2 separate regions of the Homo sapiens genome follow, and region 1 is linked to region 2. Evidence: promoter capture Hi-C in 16 types of primary human blood cells and fetal thymus (Javierre and others, 2016). All regions are on one chromosome and are shown on one strand. Each heading gives the region's core, a stretch centred on a gene start or on the middle of the fragment in contact. The rest is flanking DNA. Distances are from core to core; before and after follow the strand shown. Region 1 overlaps PPP1R3F (protein phosphatase 1 regulatory subunit 3F). Region 2 holds the start of PAGE4 (PAGE family member 4).

Region 1 (6,615 bases), core at 827-3,326, 550 kb after region 2:
GGCCATCAGGAAACACAATGGCTGCCAAGCTGATAGGCCCCGAGGAGACCAGAGGGTGAGGATTTGGAAAGAGGTGGTGTTGGCCCCGGCCTAGGCCAGCCAAGAAAGCCAAGAAAGGTGATTCGCCAGTCACAGAGTAAGCGAGCGGGTGAGGGCTGACAAGCCCTGTGGAGAAAAGCAAAGCAGACTTTCAGAGCAGTCACAGACTGCCATTGCCACCACCACCCGAGTCCTCTGGAGCACCCCCAGCATTCATGTTTTCAAAGAATTTTGCCAGCCCAAAGTGGGTCAGGCACTGAAACCCAAAGGGAAACTCAGCAGACCCCGGCTCCCATGTAGTCAACCTGAAGATAACGCTGACTTTCCGGGGGGATGAGTGGCTTCAGAAACCTGCCCCACGATACTCAGAATTGCAGTTACCCTGAGCCATCTGCTTTCTGAAAAGAACAGGGTTTGAAGGTGGCTGTGAAAGCCACCAAGTTATGTGGGGCACTGCTTTGCCTTCCCCAACAAGTGTGTCAGCCTCAACTCTGGGACTTGCGGGTGATCCAGTGGGGTAGAGGGAGAGCAGTTTCTCGTGCCATGAGCTTCTTCAACAGCCATGACTTCATTCTTTGGCCACGACCCATAGTAAGAAATCCATTCTACATCATAACCCAGCACACCCACACGTGTAAACAGACATATAAATAACTGAAAAATGGTTGTTCTTCGAGTGAAACAATACTTACCTTTACTGCATGTGGTGATACACTGGCATTTCTTATGCTATTTCCTTTTTCTTTTTAATGCTTGTTGAAACCCAGTAAATTGATTTCACAACTCAATAAAGGGTTAGGATATGCAATTTTGAACAATTCCAGCTCTGCCACCTATCAGCTGTGTGACCTGGGGCAAGTTACTTAACCTCTCTGTGCCTCAGTTACCTCATCTCTAAGGAGGGGATAATAATACCTACATCAGTGAGTTGTTCAGCAGATCAAAGAAATATTTGAAAAGTACCTATAAAGCACTTAACAGTAACCCCCTCCAAATTTCCATTGAGGGAAACTGAAGCTCTGAAAGGAAAGCAACTTGCCCAGTGTTGCCCTGCTGGTAAAATGCATCACCCAGCCTGGTACAGTAGCTAAGAGCTGGAGCACTAGAGCAGGACCACACAGGCTCAGATCCCAGCTCTGCCACTTTCTTAGCACGTGGCCTCAGGCCCATGTCCTTAACCATAATGCCCTACCAAGTTTTCTGTGGCATAAAAGAGGATCACGTTCACATTAATTCCTCACTCTACAGAAAACTAAGATGCCCCTGACTTGTCCCGTTCAACTCCAGTTATTCTGGTTTCCCCTGAGGCTGCCAACTCAGATAGCAGGTTGGATCCCCATCCCTTCAGTTATAGGTGCACTGAAAGACAGTGGGCCTTCCTGTGCATCAGCCCCAGTGACGGATCCTGGAGACACCATGGTGAGCAAACCCAACTAGGAAGCTTACAATTCAGTATGGAGGAAGACATTAAAAAAATACTCAAACTCATTATTTCAACAAACATTTATTGAGCACCTGCTAAGTGCCAGGCACTGTGGCAGGCCTGCAGGAATACAGTGGTGAATGAAAGCAGACCATGTCCCTACCCCTCACGGAGCTTACAGTCTAGCGGGGCAGAGAGTCATCCAGCAACCCCCTAATAAAGATATAACTACAAACTGCGATCAGTGCCTTTAGAAAAGGAAAGAATGCCCTAGAATAAGGGTCCCTGGCCCAATCTACAGGGTCAGGCAGGGCTTACTTAAGGATGCTGAAAAGCAAAACGAGCAAGTGGGGAGGTAGGGGAGTGAGAGGCTGCTTGGGAACACTGTGGGAGAGGTGATGAATGCAGTCCCCGACAAGGTGAGTTTGAGGAATTATTTGGGCCATCAGTCAAGTGGAGATGCCGAGTTTGGATACATGAAGCTAAGGGAAGAGCCAGGAGAAAGAGAAGGGCCAGAGAGTTAAGAGGAAAACCAGCAGAGTGTGGTCTCAAGGCAAGGGAAGACAAAGTGTTTTAAGTAGGAGTGGTCAACCACTTCAAGAGGAAAACTAAAAAACCACCTGCAGAATCTGGCAGATGCCGGGGGCTAACACTTACGGGGGTGAGCAAGTGCAGAAGGCAAGTACAGGCAACTCTGCAGGGGTCAGCAGTGAAGGGGAGGGTGATGAGGTGCTGGCCAGAAGCAGGAGGGAGAGAACGTGGGGTCAGCGGAGACAGAAGGGATGCTGGCACAGGCAAAGGTGAATAGAGGATCAAGCAAGGAGGGCAGCAGAAAACCTGCCAGGAGAGAAAAGGTGACTGATGATGTCAGATTCTAGAGCAAGTAGCAGAAACTGGGACCCAGAGCACAGGAGGGAGAAGTGGCCTGAGCAAGAAGGGACTCCTCGTCATCTGTAACACAGGGGAGGGAAATCAGCGTGCAGACTTGGGGGCCACAAGTTATAGGGAGTTCCATTCTTATGGCTTCTGTTTTGTTTTTTGAAGCAGGAGAGAAAGTCTGAAGGTAAAGAACATTTGAAAGAGTCACTTCAGAGGAGAAACGAGTGGATCAAAAAAATATAGTAGAACTGCTAGGCAGGGTGGCCGATGACCCCTCGACTGGTGGCGATGTTCATCTGCTCTGCCATGGGACATTCTCTAACAAAGCTTAGCACGTGCTGGGCTGATGAGTGCTATGAAAAAGCCAGGGGCCCGAGGACACTGGGGTGGACAGGCTCCCCTGGGGAAGTCCTCTTAGAACTGAGGGATCAACACTGGAGGAGACTGCAAGGGGTACGGGATAAATGTTCCTGGTGAAGGAAACAGCAGGGGCAAAGGCCCTGCAGCAGAAAGGAGCGAGGCCCTTTGGAGTAACAGAAAGACCATGGTGACAGGAGCTCAGAAAGACCACTGGTGTTAAGACTATGAGCCAGTGGAGGCCAGATTGGGGAATGGGATGGGAGGGTGCTTGAAGACCATGGTGAGGCTCTCTTGGTCTTTACTTTTAAGAAGAATAGGACACTTCCAAAGGGTAGTGTCAAGTGCCAAGGAAGATCAGGAGGGCTTTTCCCCACACCAGCCCTAGGACTTTGGACTCTGGGAGCCTCAGTTTGCTCATCCAGGAAAGAGAAATTTAAAACCCTCTACTTCACAGGGAATGTTGTCGGAATTAAACCAGACCTTGCATGAAAATATAGTACTCAGTGAAGTGCCTGGCGAAGAGCAGGGGCTCAGCCAGGTCTCATACAACAAATCCTCTGTACTCCATCCCACAAGCCCTGTGACATCTTAGGACCACTCTGCATCTCTTTCCCTGCTGGAACCTAGCACTGTGCCCAGCACACAGTAGGCAGTCAATAAATGCTTGTCGATGAATCATCTCTAAGCTTTAGAGTTACCAAATGCCTGGTCCAGCAACCCAGGGAAAGCAGCCATTTGGGTTTCTGAACTCTATCCTGATGGCTACCACGGACTTCTCCCATGCCCTCACCTGATGTGGCTGTGCTCAGTGCACAGAGGGCCTACAGCCAACATTTCCTCAACAGGAAGCCCTCTGATAGGGCTCCCACAGGTAAGGGATATACCCTGAGATCCTCCGCCATTTCCCAAGAGGGCTAGGTCACAAAGGGTGGCTAGTCTTCAACAGTGCTGCAAGTCACTGGCAGCACACAGGTTCTAAAACAATAATATGTTGAAATGTACTCACCAAGAAAGCCACCGACCTACAAAGAAACCCTTATCGCTGATCTTGCAATGAGCACCAACCTCCCCTTTGCAAGAGCTGAGATCGAAAGATAAAGAAGCTATCAAAAAGCCATCTGCCCACTTAAAATAATATCACAAGTCATGTTAGGAACCACAGACCTGGGGCCAGATACCAAAACAATTGTCTGAACAGGCTGCTTCAATTTCTCCTTAAAACCGCCCATGTATGTTAAAAGAAAAACACCCTCTCCACCCACCTTGGCCCTGCAAGGTTTTGATTTCTCTGTTCTCTGCCTTTCACACTCTTTAAAATGACCAAACTCCTTTACCCAAACTGTCGCATCTTACAGACAGGGTTCCCATGACAGCCGGCGGGGATGACAGCTTGGGAAAGTGATAGAAATGAAGGTAGCTCTGGGGTACTGGACCTGCTCAGTATCTTCATCTGGGTGGTGGCTACACAAGTGCATACATATGTACAAATCCACTGGGCTATACACAGAATATCAGTACACTTTATGTAGGTATACCTCGATAAAGCAAAAAAAAAAAAAAAGGTAAAAGGAAAGCACGACATGCTGGGAACACCAAGAGTGAAATCCAGAATTTGCCCTGAATCATGCCACGCTTTCTAGAGGACCAGTTTAAAAAAAAAAAATAGAAAAAAATAAATGTCCCTAGCATTTCTTCCCTGGCCCTGTCACTCACTAGCTGAGAGGCTTTGAGCAAGCTGGCTCATCTCTCTGAGCTACCTGTCTCCCCTCTACTAAATGGGGATAATCATAGCACCTACACAACACAGCATGCACAGCAGGCCTCACGGAGAGAATGGATCTGATGTTCATAGCACAGAAATCAGTAAATGCTGGCCAGTTATCTTTTGCAGTTACCACCATGCTTCAGTTACCTTGCCCATGTTTGCTGCATTCAATCCAACCATGCAAAGTGACTGTCATTTCCCTTAGCAGAGAAGGAAACGGAGGCAAGGCCACACAGCTGATGGGCGGAGCCGAATTTAGGAGAGGAATCCAGGAAACTGTAGGTGTGGCTCCCTAAATACTGACACTAGCTAACACCTGTATGATACTACTTTGAGCCAGACTCGGTTCTGAGCACCTTTACTCTTATCCCGTAAAGTAGATGCTATAATTCTGTTTTACAGGTGAGGGTCCTGAGGCATGGTGTAGTTAAATGCGTTGGCCAAGGTCACAAGGCCAGTAAGTGGCAGCGCCAGGATTTGAACCCAGGCAATCTATGCCAGAATCCACACTCTTAATGCTGTAAGAAAAACCATGCTGCCTGCCCCCTTTAAATGAAGTCTCAGATTATGGTGGGGCTCACAGGTGGGTGAGTGGGTACCTGCCTGCCTGCTCAGTTACCCAGGCACATCTGCCCACCAGACCGGAGCTAGACCTTTCTGAACCACTCACAGCCTAAGGCCTTACCAGAACCAGCAGAACCCACAAATGTCTTACTGCAGCCAGGGGCTTCTGACCAAGCGTATACATACAAGGTCCAAAAAGCATTTTCCCATTTCCATTCCCAGTCCTCCCAGGAACAGGGAAATGTATACATTTTAGGGAGAATCTAGTGATCCTGGGCCAGACTTAGGTGACCGCAAAAAGAATCAGGACTAGCTGCTGCCCTTAAAGAACTCATAGCTTGATAGAGGAAACCTAGGGAAATCTTCTGGGGCCCCCTGGGGTATAACTGATTATTTCTCCCTGTCCCTAAATGATCACAGGTGGTGTGGCAAAAAAACAAGGGACAAAAACTTCAAGTCCAGTACCCATCTGGTTCTGTCTCTCTGCTAGAGCCACTGCTTTCTTGTGAGAGCATGGGCTCAGCCCCTCGCCTCCACAGGACTCAAAAGTAGATTACAGCGTTAACAGTAGAGTGCACAGGCTTCAAGGTCAGGCATGGGTGAACTGGAAGAGCCAGGTGCCATCACTGCCTCAACCAGTTTCTCCACCTCTGGAATCCTGGTTTCCTGCTCTGTCAGAAAGAGAATCTGCTCTACCCCCCACTGGCAAAGCCCTTGGTCCACACTATGTCATTGCAGTTCTCTCCACTCCAGCACACTGCTGATCATTCACACCAAGCTCATTTCCACCCCAGGACCTTTGCACTTGCTGTTTCCTCTACCTAGAACACCCTTGTTCCATATATGCACATAACTGTTATTCATCATCCAGGACTTAGTTTAAATGAAACCTCCTCAGAAAAGTCCTCCCTGTTCCTTTTCCTACAAACTCTCCCCCACCTCCCCACCGTATCTGCATAACTCTTCTTTATCATCATTCGGGACTCACCTCCTCAAAGGCCCTCCCTTTAACAGCATGTCTGACACAGTCATTCCCTCCCAATCTATCCCCTTACTCCCTTCAGCAGCTAACTTTGTCCCTATTTATCCTATCTGCTTGCTTGCTTGTTTTTTCAAACTGTCTCCCATAGGAGCCTGTATGAATCCTTGAGGGTAGGGTAGATGTCTGTCTTGTTCAGGGCTTTACAGTGGAACTCAATAAATGGAGGAATAAAACCCCAGTTAAAACAGTGCCTAGCACGTGTTTGACCTCCATCACTCTTTGACTGACTGACTCAATGCACCCTCCTCCCTGTCCTGGAGAGCAGGCCTGAGGGGTTCCTGGGCCGGAATGCTTGTCCTCCATCCCAGACACAGCCCTGCGTTGGCGGAGGTGGCGCTGGCTGACATTACCTGCGCCTCACCGGCTTCATGCAGCTCTTCAGCTGCCTGGCCTCAGCCTCCACGGGACCCTGGCACTCGGGCTGTGGCTCCAGCTGCGGCAGCTGCTGCTGCTGGGGCAGCCCTTCGGCATCAGTGGGTGTGGGAGCGGGTGCGATCCGGAGCAGGACTGTGTAGTTGCGGCCGTGGTTGTTGGCCCAGAAAG
Region 2 (7,364 bases), core at 166-2,665:
CTATTTCCAGACTCTTAAAAACATACATATGCAGACAATATCAGAAAATAAGTCTCCTTGCTCAATGTCTCATTAATGTGATTTAGTTTGCAACTATTTTCAGCAGGGAAGTCCTTTATATAACAGATCTATATTGGTTAACAATGTTTTAGATTTTCTTTCAGAAAAATACATTTCTGCCAATGGAAATAAGATACTGAAATGTACTCACAGCCACGAATGCAACCACATCGGGAGCCTCCTGACCATCTCCTCTTCCTCTGGATCTTGATCTCACTCGTGCACTCATCGCTGCAACTAGAAGATCGTGAACTGAAGACTGCAATAAAAAGGAGTAATTATACTTGACTCTTTCCATGGCCATCTGCTGATTGTAATTTTTTTTAATTTTGTGAGATTTCCATAATAGGTCCTGAGTTAATAATAACTACGCCTGGTTTCCAATCACATCAAATAAATCTATCTGCAAACTGCTTTGTTTCTTCCACAGCCAGCTCGGCAGAGAAGTGATCTTCAAGTCCTAGATCAAAACATGGGGTCTTTCCTAAAGAGACTTAATTTCATAACTAAACTCCATTATGAAGAGATTTTTTAATATACAGCCACCCCAGGTCCCCTCCTCCCCAGGTCCCCACTGAGAACTCCGAAACCTGTCCTCTTTCGGCAGTTTCAGGTGCCTCTGGGACTCAAAGATACCTCAAAAAGTACCCCCCAAGTTTTGCTCCATCTGATCCCTCTCCCCTCCGTGGCCCAACTTCCTCCCTCGCCCCAGCCCTGCCACAACCACAAGGTCATGGCGGCGCCACCACCTGTGAGGCCCTTCCTCCTCCGAGGCCACGGACTGTGCTGCCCGACCCTCCTGAAGCCCACCAGCTCCTCTTCACACTTAAACTCCCATGGAGGAACGATCGGTGGACCCACCCACTGAGTCTCAGTCTCAGGTGAAAGAGTCCCGACAATTGGAATGCAAACGGCACCCTCACAGCTCCGCGGCAGTTCACCTCGTGGGTGAAGGGGCTGATGGGAAGACCCCCAGTGAACACGAGCACTGAGGCAGGCGCTGTCAAGCGCGGGCTGTCCCACCCTTTCCCTGGCCCCCACTGAGGACCCCAGCATCCGTCCTTTATGGACAGTTTCATATGCCTCCAGGACTCAGATAGTGTCCCGCTCCAAAACTCACAGCATCTTGGCTGACCCTCCTCCCCTTCATGGCCCTCCTTCCTCCCCTGTCCCTGCCCCGCCGCATAGCTGCCTGCTAGGAGAAGGATGATGACCTCGAGGCCCTTCCTTCTCTGAGGCCAGGGACCACAGTGCCCGACCCACCAGAAGCCCGCCGGCCCACTCACTCACACCTGTTCTCACTTACACTTGAGTCAGCAGAGAGCCTGGCGAAGAATGAAGGGAAGAGAAGTGGCACCTACCTACTTCTGCCTCCTTGTTTAGACCTCAGCAGTGTCAACCCCACCAGCCAATCCCAAACCTCGGGGGTGTGTCACGTGGGTTGTCTTTCCAGCCCTCTCCCGCCTCCTAGAGGCTCTGTGCCACCTGGAGGAAGGGCCTGCTCGGTGCTGAGAAGGGCTTGTTTCTGGCTTCTGGCCCCTCCTGCAAAATGTTCTGTCCTTCTGGATCTAGGAATGTTCCCAGCTCTGCATTTCACCTGCAAATTTACCCTTTAATTTTTTCTCAGTGCTGCTACCTCAGTGGCCCTTAAGAGGGTATTCAGTCTTCCCAGAGATGCGTGAAAGCTTAGGTTCTCAGAGAGTGCAAAGCCATTTTAAGCATGATAGGAATCCAGAAAAAAATGTAAAGGAGAAGGATGATAAACCCACATACATAAATAAGCCTAAACATTTGCACAAAAATCCAGGCCAGGTGCGGCAGCTCATGCCTGTAATCCTAGAACTTTGGGATGCTGAGGTGGGTGGATTTCTTGAGCCCAGGAGTTCGAGACCATCCTGGGCAACATGGCAAGACCCTGTCTTTACAAAAAATACAAAAATTAGCTGGGCATGGTGGTGCACACCTGTAGTCCCAGCTACTTGAGAGGCTGAGGTGGGAGGATAGCTTGAGCCCAGGAGGTTGAGGTTGCAGTGAGCCAAGATCACACCACTGCACTCCAGCTTGGGCAACAGAGCAAGACCCTGTCTCAAAAAATAAAAAATCCTGTGACCCAGCATTTCTACTTCTAGGACTTTAATGTTAAGGAAACTGTCTTGAATGTTGACAAATATTCCTTGCTTGGCCAAACTTTTAAGTCAGGCTTCTGAAACTTCTCCTCCTAGGCCCATCTGTGCATTTCCTTGTAAAACCCAGTTTTAGCAAAGAGCCCTGCTAAGTCAATGTGGCATGAACCCTCCATCCTCAATATCTGATCATACTTGCTATCGCATGGGGTTCTTCATCTTCCACCATCCCCCAGGTGATGTCTGATTCCCCTTGGCCTGTCTTCAGCAAGAATCCTGCTAGGTGGGTTTAGCCAGAATCCCCCTTACCCCTGATGTTTCCTTTTAGTAATTTTCCACCCACGGACCGCCATACTGCTCCTTCGCTATACATTCCCACTGGCCTGCGCTGTATTCAGTATTGAGCCCAATCTCTCTCCCCCACTGCAAGATCCCATTGCAATGGTCCCTATACCCATCACCACAGTCCTAAATAAGGTTTTCCTTACTGTGCTTTAACAACTACCACTGAATGTTTTTTTTCTTTAACCATGTGAACAAAAATTTGGATACATGGGACTTCCAAAACAGCTTAATTTATAATAGCATGGTCATGGACTTGCTATATAAGTAAATTATGGCACACTTGAAAATGAAATATGGGTGACTACCAAAACCAGTGCTGAATAATATTTCCTGTAATAGTGGTGCTGTTCATTTTAAGTTATTAACTTGAAACATCCAGTTATGTAGCACTGTGTATGTACAATATGATCTCAAAAGAAAAGAGAGGTTCAATAGTGCTACCACACCACCAGCCTTCCTCTCAGACAGTAAGTGTGCTTTGTTCTTGTGCAACCAGCATGTTCTGGGGCTCCAAAGATATATGGTTCTCCAAGGGGAACCCAGCAGATAAAAGGCAGTGCTAGGGGTCATAGGTCTCCTGCACCTGGTGCACGTCAAAGAGCTTCACCATCACCTAGGTGGTCTGATCCTCTGCTGTCAGAGAAGGTGTGGGGGGTTGGGGGTAGGGGGACAGAAGCCCACTGTTACTGCTTTGGGCAAAAGTTAGATGGGTGCCTGCAAGACAGAAAGGAGCTTGCCCTGCACATCCCTGTCCAACCCCTCCTGCCCCCGCTAAACCCCTGGGGGAAAAATATCCTTTCTGTCCGTGCATGCCTGGACCTGGACCGTTCTCAGACTCTGCAGGTTACCCTTAAAGAAGCGCACATTCTTTGAGAGTTAGAAAGATCCCCCATGGCAGAAGTAGAATTGCCAGATCTCCCTCTCCTTCTCTCCCTCTCTCCTACAGATAAGATGTAGAGTCAATACAGAGCCAAGTGTGAAGAATATATAATTCTTCCTTGATATCACCAATCAGGGATAACCACTTTTTATATCTAAGCAGGAGCTGCTCCTACTACTCAGATCTTTATGTAGATTAAATAAAGATTTATTGAGAGACTGAGATCTCACACTCTGCAATCAGTATAAACTGTGGGCTCTAGTCTCAGCCTCCTGTTTCTCCTCAGGTAAAGTGCTTTCATTAGCTCTCAGGTGTTTCCTATTATCACTTGGAAAGGCTATCTGCAGCCTGCTGCCTCCCTGACCTTGGTGCCTGTCGGTTGGCAGCTGCTGTGTTCTCTGCATAGGATCAAGTTTCTCTAGGATGCTGTGAAGGAGTGAGAGGACAGGTAAGGTCCTTTCTGTGTGAGAGCTTAGATCTGAACTGAAAAAGAAATCCCGATTTGCCCAGCACCATGAGCCTTCCCAGAGAACCTCATCCTCAGGCAACATTAGTGCAAAGCAAGCACTCTGATCAACGATGTAGGTGATCCCAAGCCCTTGTTTGTATCATTGTGATGATTATAGATGTCACTTTCATTGTATTCATTTTATGTCACAGGTGATATCTGCTCCTTACAAATAATCCAATCACTAAAAATTGACTAATTCTACTGTTTTCTGCTATTTGATGGGAGGAAACACCACACTACTATTTGAATTTGCACTTTTGATAAATAATACGTTTGAACATTGTTATTCAAGTAATTCATGCTCATAAACAATCCACAAAATCAGAAAGAGGAGAATCAAGAAATAACTCTGGAGTTCCAGCATTCATTAAAAACCTATCTTCTATTTGTCATTTTAGTGCATGTGTTTCCATATATTTATCATTTTAGATGATCATTCATGCTGCAGCAAACATCCTCATGAACCATTTTCAGTCCACTTCCTTAAACATTTCTTCATGAAAAAAATTCCTACATGAAGAAATAGGGGCTTGAGAGTATGTACAACTTGTCTAATGTCACACCCTCTGGCAAGTTATGCCTGGAATTAAATCTGTATCTTTCCGATTCTGGTTTAAGCCTGAATCATAAACATAAACATGTATGCTTCTTCACCTTGTGCTACCCTATGGATCCAGTAGTTCCTTTGAATCCCTCAGCTCAAGGAGAAGCTTAGTAACCCCATGAGCACCATCCATGAGAGGTGATATGGTGTAGGTGCCCACATGTGCAGAATGCAGGACTGGCAGAAGAAACATCATGTGCTAAGTCTTGGAAGCATGCTTGCAAACTGCAGAGGCCACTGGAGCTGGAGACCGAGGCTGTGGGTCAGAGGAGGATCTTTTCTCTGGTGTCCTTTGACCTACTGTATGCCACAATAAGGGCATGAATATAAATATTATGAATATAAATATTTTGTGAGATGATTTTTCTAAACACTGACTGGTAAACATAAAGGCAATTTTCATGATTGCAAAGGAGAGTTCCTGGAAATCTTGACATGGATTGACAAAGTATGTTATTTTAAACTGTTACTCCAACTACCTGTGAACTCCTTCAAATACTACTCATGCCCATTCAGTTGCTGCACACATGCTCATATCTATTCAGATAGCTATTACTTAGCGTCAGCATTTCCGAGTAGTTCACCTGAAGCAACTGGAGAGGAAGGAAGATTCTGTCCTTGACAGCTCCACCATCGGAAGGAGAAGCCCTTGTTTCCCAGTCTCCTTATATAGAAACCACCAGGTTCACCTTTCTGTGCCAACTGAGCCCCATTTCATAGTTGTGCTTGTCACTTCAGTCTTCACTGATGGTGTGCAGGCCTCTCACTTGTGCTAGAAAGCTCATCTGGCTTTGGACTTCTTTCTCTTGGGCAAGCCTCCTCTTATGCATGTATCCCTTCACAGGTAATTAGTGAGGGTACGTTGGTCATGCTGGCCTTTGCTGGTTGTTATGTCTCTACCTGTATACCTTTGCCAAAAATCAGTTGTTTGTATAGGTGTGAGTTTATTTTTGGACTCTCTGTGCTGTGCTAATCTATTTGTTTATCTTTATGCCAATGTCACACTACTGTGACATAGTTTTGTAGTAACTCTTGAAATCCTACTTTGACTAATCTTGGTCTTTTGCATTTCCATATGAATTATGGAATCAGCTTGTCAATTTCTACCCCCCAAAAAACCTTCAGTAATTTTGATTGAGAATGCACCAAATTTATAGATCAATTTGGGGAGAATTGACATCTTAACAATATTGAGTCTTCAGACCCGTGAACAAGATATATCTCTTCATTTATGTAGGTCTTTTTTTTTCTTTTTTTGTGTTTTTTCAATTATGCAGGTCTTAGTTTCTCTCAGAAATATTTTGTAGTTTTCAATGTATAGATTTTTCATATATTTTGTCAGGTTTATCCCTTATGTTTTTCATGTTTTATGATATTGTAAATGGTATTGTTTTTATTTCCATTTTATTGTTTGTTGCTAGTAGACAGAAATACAACTTATTCTTTATATTGAGCTTGTATCCTGCAATTTTGCTAAACTCACTTGTTGGTTTTAGTAGATTTTCATTGGTTTAATTAGATTCTATCATGTTTTCTACGTAAACAATTGTGTTATTTGTGAATAGACGATTTTACTTTATTCCTAATCTGCATGCATTTTACTTACTTTCGTTCCATGACTACACTACCTAGAACCTCCACTACAATGTTGAACACAAGTGGGGAAAGTGGAAATCTCTGTCTTGTTCCTGATCATAGGGCAAAAGTTTTCAACATTCTGCATCTATTAAAATAATCATATTTTTTTTCTTTTTTAGCTGTTAATAAGGTGAATTTTATTGATTCATTTTCAAGTATTAAACCAGCCTGCATTCCTGAAATAAATTCCATTCAGTCATGATGTATTATTCTTTTAATGCATTGCTGGATTTAATTTGTTAAAATATTGTTTAGAATTTTTGCATGTATATTTATGATGGATGTTGATTTATATTTTCCTTTTCTATTAATATCTTTGTCCAATTTTGGAATTAAGAAATTCTGGCCTCATAGAATGAGTAGGGAAGCATTCTTTCCTCCTCAATATTTTGGAAGATTTTGCATAGAATTGGTATTACTTCTTCCTTAAATATTTGGTAGAATACTTCAGTGATGCCATCTAGGCTTGGAGTTTTCTTCTTGGAAACATTTTTAAGCTACAATTTCAATTTCTTTAAAGGGTTATTCAGATACAGAGTTATTCAGCTTATCTATTTCTTCCTGAGTGAGGCTTGGTGGTTTGTGTCTTTCAGATTATTGTCTATTGTATCCTTGCTGATTTTCTGCCAACATGTTCTATCAATTATTGAGAAAGAAATATTGTAATCTCAGACGTAATCGTAGATTCGTGTATTTCTCATCATGTATTTTGTGACTCTGTTATTAGATGCATAAATATTTGGGGTTCTTAGGATTGTCACTAACATAAATGTAAGAATCCGCAACAAAATATTAGCAAATTGAATCTAGCAATAAGAATAATACAGCACAACCATAGGAAGTTTATTCCAGGAATGCAATGCGAATTCAATATTCAATAATCAATCAATTTAATATTTGATATTAACAGTCTAAAGAAGAAAAATCATATGATAATATCAATTGATGCAGAAGAAGTATTTGACAAAATACAGCATCCATTCATGATAAAAACTCTTGGTGAAGTAGAACTAGAAGGAAATTTTCTCAATTTGTAAAGAGATCTGCAAAACACCGACAGCTAACATTGTATTTGATGGTGAAAGACTGAATGCTTTCCTCCAAAGATCAGAAACAAGACAAAGATTTCTATTCTAACTACATCTGTTCAACATCATGCTGGGAGTCTTAGCCAGCATAACAAGGCAAGAAAAAAGACATATA

The links. Contacts are between HindIII fragments. The CHiCAGO score rates a contact against its expected background, and 5 or more counts as called.
Region 1: a contact is called between a fragment that was not itself captured here and the fragment with the promoter of PAGE4 in region 2, in 3 of 17 cell types (M2 macrophages, M0 macrophages and monocytes). The highest score is 6.6, in M2 macrophages.

What each region holds. Positions count from the first base shown.
Region 1 is chrX:49,270,681-49,277,295 of GRCh38, reverse strand. PPP1R3F (protein phosphatase 1 regulatory subunit 3F) reads right to left here. Exons shown (of 4, transcript NM_033215.5): 1 at 6,423-6,615. Among named protein-coding and RNA genes, the nearest start is that of PPP1R3F, 4.2 kb to the right of the region's middle. RefSeq lists an enhancer at 1-88. The HindIII fragment of the contact is 1,188 bases long and covers 1,483-2,670 here.
Region 2 is chrX:49,823,354-49,830,717 of GRCh38, reverse strand. PAGE4 (PAGE family member 4) reads right to left here and starts at 1,415. Exons shown (of 5, transcript NM_007003.4): 1 at 1,367-1,415; 2 at 212-319. The coding sequence starts at 289. RefSeq lists an enhancer at 1,011-1,511. The HindIII fragment of the contact is 15,040 bases long and covers 1-1,747 here.